Linked DNA regions of Homo sapiens: region 1 is linked to region 2. Evidence: promoter capture Hi-C in 16 types of primary human blood cells and fetal thymus (Javierre and others, 2016). All regions are on one chromosome and are shown on one strand. The core of a region is centred on a gene start or on the middle of the fragment in contact, and the rest is flanking DNA. Distances in the headings are between cores, read along the strand shown. Region 1 overlaps UBALD2 (UBA like domain containing 2). Region 2 holds the start of H3-3B (H3.3 histone B).

Region 1 (3,159 bases), core at 365-2,864, 490 kb after region 2:
AGATAAGGCCAGGAATGTGTCTTTAATCTCTGTGTTGAGCTCCACCAGCCCAGCACACAGAGAAGTGGTCCGGGGTCTGGATTTGCTTTCTTTTTCATTCTAGCCCAGGCCCAAGCTTTTGCCCTCCTGGCCATGGGGTACTCTGCTTTCTTGAGGCCCAGGACATCTCTCCTGTACCCTACCCCCCTAGTTACCTATTAGCCCTGCTGGGGGAGGAGGGGCAGGGCTCAGCGATAGGGATCTTAAAACATTGTTCCCCAGGAGAGCTGTTGTGGACTCTAGGTGCATTTTTGGGATTTTTAACACTTGGTGCCCTTGCCTTTGGCTCTCTGTTTTCATCTAGTCACAGAGGACAAGTAGAGGGGTCTGTCTTGACCTTGTTAGCTAGTTTTTCTCAGAATGGCTGATGCTGTATATAAATCAAGCCAAAATGGCATTTGAGTATGATGGGAGCATGGTGCTGGCCACAGGGCTCTTAGAAACCCAAGAGGGTTTCATCTCCAGGGGACACCGTCCCCTGCACTTGACCAGGAGAAATGGCCAGCACCCGCCTATGCTTGAGTCTCGAAGCTTCCTGCCATCTCCTGTCACCGGATCCTTGAGATTTCCTTCCACCAGCTGTGGCCATCCCAAAAAACTCAGAACTTCCAGATACTACAGCCATTCTGAGGGGCTGAGAACAGGGAGGCTCCCCAGGAAGAGCTGGTCTGGCATCCTGTTTAGTTCCTATTGCCCCTCCTCTGCAAATCCCAAGGAGATGCTAAGTCTCTTTTGAAGCTTCCCTCAAGGAAGGCAGCAGGTTTTGTAACACACATAACCAGTGTGTCCATCAGTGCCCAAGTCTGAGTGCCTTAGCAGCACAGTGGAGGACACCATCCCTGCTCTCAAAAAGTTCATGGTTTCTTTTTTTTTTTTTTTTTTTTTCTAATTTTATTTTTGAGAAAGGCCAGGGCAGGGGGAGTCTCTATGTGGCCCAAGCTGGTCTTGAACTCCTGGCCTCAAGCTATCCTTCCGCCTCAGCCTCCCGAAGTGCTGGGATTATAGGTGTGAGCCACTGCACCCAGCTGGCAATTTCTTTTCTTTTTTTTTTTTTTTGAGACAGAGTTTCACTCTTATTGCCTAGGCGGAGTGCAATGGTGTGATCTCGGCTCACCGCAACCTTCACCTCCTGGGTTCAAACGATTCTCCTGCCTCATGGGATTACAGGCACGTGCCACCTGTAATCCCACACCTGGCTAATTTTGTATTTTTAGTAGAGACGGGGTTTCTCCATGTTGATCAGGCTGGTCTCGAACTCCCAACCTCAGGTGGTCCGCCTGCCTCGGCCTCCCAAAGTTCAGGGATTACAGGCGTGAGCCACTGCACCCGGCCTGGCAATTTATTTTGGACAAAGTAAGTCAAAGGAAAAAGATCAAAAAACGAAACACTAGAGACCAGTAACAGCAAAATGGCAAAACCAGAAGTCATGAGTAACTGATAAATGGTTGTCCCGTACATTACTGTAGATTCCCATAGTTGGAAGCTTCCCAGTTGATAAGGAGGGCTTCCCAGTTGGAAGTGGAGAAAGGCACTACAGACTTGAAGTGGGAGGACAAAGGTACAGGGGACAATGGGTTTTCTTGAGAACTGGCCGAGAGGGCATATCTGGTTCAAAACCCTCATTTTACAAAAGCAGAGAGAAGCTCCAGAGAGGTTCAGGAACTTGCCCAAGCTTACACAGGCAGGCCACCACAGGCCTGCCAGCCATCATCCCTGCTGTTCTCTGGCGGCTGTTTGAGGAGACAGGCCTCGCTGGCTGGCGGGGAACTGGGGAAGTCGGTCACGATGCTGTGATGCAATTGGCCTCCACCCCCACCCTTCATTCATTGTTTCCTGCTGCCGAGAAGTCATCCCCAGAGGGTGGGGGGGGGGCAGGGAGTAGTGGAGGGAGGAGGGGAAAGGTCTGGGTGGGGCCAGGCCTCTGCATTGGGTCCTTTGGCCTCCCCCTGAGGACCCCTAGAAAGGCAAGGGTCAGAGCTCCCTTGGTGCCCTGGGTGCTGACATGGTGTGGGGCTCAATGGACAGGGTGTGCTAGTGTCCCCATTCCATGTATGTTACACACCCCCTACACAACCTCCGGTTTCTAGCTGTGAAAGCTCCCTCTGTTTTTTTTTTTTTTTTTTTTGAGACGGAGTTTTGCTCTGCCACCTAGGCTGGAGTGCAGTGACGTGATCTCAGCTCACTACAACCTCCACCTCCCGGGTTCAAGTGATTCTCCGGCCTCAACCTCCCAAGTAGCTGGGATTATAGACGCCCATCACCACACCCAGCTAATTTTTGTATTTTTTAATAGAGACAGGGTTTCACCATGTTGGTCAGGCTGGTCTCGAACTCCTAACCTCAGGTGATCCACCCGCCTCGGCCTCCCAAAGTGCTGGGATTACAGACGTGAGCCACTGCGCCCTGCCAAAGCTCCCTCTTTCAAGGTGAAGAGCCCTCAAGTCGTTCCCCCAACTCCTGCGCCTGGGGGAGGGGCCAGTGTTGCTAAAATTAGGAGAAATTCAAAGAAGGACTCCTGTGGCTTCCTGGGAAAGGGAGAAAGCAGCTTTGAGGTCCCAGCCAGTTTTGTGTGGTCTTGTTCTCTGTGTTGCCTCTTGCCCATGCTGCTGACGAGGTGCTCCTGGATGGCACTCCAGCCCCTGCCCCCAGGGTAGTGACAGAAGACAGCAGATGGGGGACTGTAGCTACCCCCAGGAAGAGGACTGAGGGGCTGGACAGACTGAGAAACTGCCAGCCTGCAGGCAAGGGCAGGCCAGCTGTGTTTGTGGCCTGAGGCTACAGACACAGGACATTGAAATCCCTGGTTTGTGTCCTCAAGGGGCCCAGATATAAAGGGGCTCTTGACTCTGTGCAGCGTGGCCCAGTAGATGTTAAGAGCTTGGGCCTGCAGACTTGGGAGCTGGGGAGGTCCGTCTTCTCAACTTGCCCTCTGCTGTGGGTGCATTTTCGGGCAAGTGACTTGACTTCTGGGCCTCAGTTTCCTCATTTGTCATAAAGAGAGGATAATTGAAGCCACTAAGTGTCATTGTTAAGGGAGGCAAAGCCTTCAAGGCCTGGTGGCTGTCACCCTTAGTGTGGTGTGAACCCATCCACCAAGGTGGCTTAACTTTTCCAGGGTTG
Region 2 (3,253 bases), core at 534-3,033:
CTTAATGACAAGACTCCCCACCACTTGTGAATGTAAAACATTTAATTTAAAAATGTTGATACTACAATATATAAAATAGCTATTATAAATGCACATAGTGTATTCTATAGCTGCCAGGTTTACTTTTTTTTTTTTTAAAGGAAACTGTAAGTTACACTGTGGTTAAGACTTGTATCTTCACCCTTGAAAAAGCCCACATTCTATCACAGTGATGTATGGTCAGACTTAACAGCCCCAATTGTTAAACACTTGGATCAAGTCATAACCAGTTTTATTGCAAAAGGACCCTGTACACATTTATCAACTCTAGTACCTTAATAGCTACCCAACAAGTCATTAACATACAGAAACATGCATCATGAGAAGCAAGAAGTATCACCCATCCCTTCTGCATATTAGCAACTTGTCACTCCTGAGCAACAGTGCTCACATCACTGAGGTCTGTGAACAGTCACTTTTCGCATTCATCCTGAGTGAAAGATGGAATGACTTAAGTACAAATGCAACATATTATAAACAATTTCTTACAAAAAAAGTCACAAATTAAACCAAAGTATTTTACAGAATTTACTACAAAACGCCATAAAAACTGCCTTCACTTAAGCTCTCTCTCCCCGTATCCGGCGAGCCAACTGGATGTCTTTGGGCATGATGGTGACTCTCTTAGCGTGGATGGCACACAGGTTGGTATCTTCGAACAGACCCACCAGGTACGCTTCGCTAGCCTCCTGTTGAGGACGAGAGCCGCACTATTAATCCCACTCGGGGAGCGGAAACCGCCCAGCCCTCCCCCGGCTCCAGGCCTTTGTCTTACCTGCAGCGCACCGATGGCTGCGCTCTGAAACCTCAGGTCGGTTTTGAAATCCTGCGCGATCTCCCTCACCAACCTCTGGAAGGGCAGCTTCCGGATGAGCAGCTCGGTCGACTTCTGATAACGACGAATCTCTCGAAGCGCCACGGTCCCGGGCCTGCAGCGAGCAGGGGAGGAGTGAGCGGACGCTGCCGCACAAAGCCGGCCACCGCCGGGCCATTGTTCCCCCGCCCGACCTACCTGTAGCGATGAGGCTTCTTCACCCCGCCGGTAGAGGGAGCGCTTTTCCTGGCGGCTTTCGTGGCCAGCTGTTTGCGGGGGGCTTTCCCACCGGTGGACTTACGAGCAGTCTGCTTGGTTCGGGCCATTTTCTTTCACCTAAGAAAGACGCCCCGAAGATAAGGCCGCCGCGCTCACCCGGGCCGCCCCCCAGGGCTGCGGGGGGAGGAACAGATCCTGGCCCCACCGCCGGGCCTCCCGCCTCCCCGCGCCCCACCTCGCGGCAGCAGATGGCCGAGGGCCGCCAACCTCCTCCCCCTCCCCTAATGACTCAGGCTGCGAGGAGCGGCAGCCTCCCCCGGGAGGGGGAGCGCGGGGAGGAGTCACTTCCCTTCCTCGACGGGCGGAGGCCCGACTGCCCGGAACCCGGCGTCGGGACCTCTGAATCACCGCCGGGAAAAGGCGGGGACACAGTTCCGGAACAAAGCCCCAAGGGGAAACCTCCCGGCCCCATACCCGACCCGACGCCAGCGGCCCGAGCAGCCCCCGCCGCTCGGCTCCCAACGGCCGCGGCGCGCGGCGCCAACGGTTGGCAGAACCTGAAGCCGCGGGTAAACCTACGAACGCCTACCCAACGCCGAAGTTTTAGGCCACTTCTCCGACCGCCGCGCCGCTTCCGCTGCCCGAGGAAGAGCCGCAGTCGACGAGCGAAAAACCAGCACCGCCCAACGAACGACCAAACCGCTCTGCGCTCCAAGCCCCCGCGTCGCCTCCGTTTTTATAGGCACGCTTCACGCTGCGTCTCTGCGTCATAGAACCCTTATTTGCATACACCAACGACTTTTTCTATTGGTGGGCGCTTTCGCCGACGCGCTGACATCCCCCGACACAAAGGCCGTGCTTCGGCACTGTTCCATGATTGGTGCATATCTACGCCGCTGATTGGCTGTTAAAGTGGCCTAATGATTGGATGGATGCAAAGAGGAATGGACGAATCAGAGTTTAGCACTAAGCGGCCCTTCTGATTGGATAAAATGGAGCTATGTTTGGATCCTTCCCTTGGTTCCAAAGCTCTGCAATAGAAAGTCAATGCAAATGAATTGCATTGGTCTCTATCAGAATGAGCAGGAGTCTAAACTCACAGGCATCAAGCGAATGCTATGCACCCAGAGAGGCTACTTTAACAAAATTTTTGTAAATATTTTCCGATGTAAAATAAAATGTGTTCCCTGGATTATTTACCTTTCATAATATTTTGATAGTTAAGTGCGTAGTGTGAGAATTAGAATTCAGTAAATCATGTTATATTATCAAGTATTTCATATATCATGCACATACATTTTTAACAAAAAGCAGGTCTCTTGGTGGGGTGGGAAGGGGTAAATAATAAATACAAATAAACATGTTAATAAATTATTTTAGAGGAACTGTTTTGTATGTTTTTAAGGTGTCACAAAATATTTTTTGATTTCCATATGCTTAAACAAGAGGTAACTTACTAAGCAACATGTTACTTGAATTATGTACTTCAAGTGAATGAAATGACTACAGCTAGAAAGTAAATAGTCCTACTATAGTATTTGCATGTCCATAAAGAATAAACAAAAGATAACTAAACTAGATATGTGCCCTTTTGTTTAATAGCATATCCTGGCAGGTATTACTTCTGAAGAAACATGACAAATGTGTAAATATGCTAATCCCTACCTTTGCCTAAGTAAATGTCTTGGGTAGATTGTAATAGTCAGTTCTTCAGTTGCCTCAAGTATATAAAATACCATAGCAGGCTTAAGGTTAAGACTAGCCAAGCAAAGCCCAGAAAATTGAAATAGAGCCTTGGGCATTCTACTCTATAGTTCTGATGCTGGTCCAGCAAATATTCTAAACTATTAAAAGAAAAAGTAGCAGATACAGGTATGCATAGGTTTCAACTAAATTAATTTTTTTTTTTGAGACGGAGTCTGACTCTGTCGCCCAGGCTGGTGTGCAGTGGCACGATCTCAGCTCACTGCAAGCTCCGCCTCCTGGGTTCACACCATTCTCCTGACTCAGCCTCCGAGTAGCTGGGACTACAGGCGCCTGCCACCACGCCCGGCTAATTTTTTTGTATTTTTAGTAGAGACGGGGTTTCACCGTGTTAGCCAAGATGGTCTTGATCTCCTGACCTTGTGATCCACCCGCCTTGGCCTCCCAAAGTGCTGGGATTACAGGCATGGGCCACCG

What was found. The method cuts DNA at HindIII sites, captures the fragments that hold promoters and counts their contacts. A CHiCAGO score of 5 or more calls a contact.
Region 1: a fragment that was not itself captured here is called in contact with the fragment with the promoter of H3-3B in region 2 in 1 of 17 cell types (fetal thymus); the score reaches 7.4 in fetal thymus.

What each region holds. Positions count from the first base shown.
Region 1 is chr17:76,266,588-76,269,746 of GRCh38, forward strand. All of the region lies in intron 2 of UBALD2 (UBA like domain containing 2), which reads left to right. Among named protein-coding and RNA genes, the nearest start is that of UBALD2, 2.8 kb to the left of the region's middle. RefSeq lists an enhancer at 1,544-1,773. The HindIII fragment of the contact is 189 bases long and covers 1,521-1,709 here.
Region 2 is chr17:75,777,996-75,781,248 of GRCh38, forward strand. H3-3B (H3.3 histone B) reads right to left here and starts at 1,784. Exons shown (of 4, transcript NM_005324.5): 1 at 1,662-1,784; 2 at 1,052-1,189; 3 at 815-968; 4 at 1-728. The coding sequence starts at 1,179. The coding sequence ends at 600. RefSeq lists an enhancer at 872-1,476 and a silencer at 1,105-1,374. The HindIII fragment of the contact is 7,034 bases long and covers 1-3,253 here.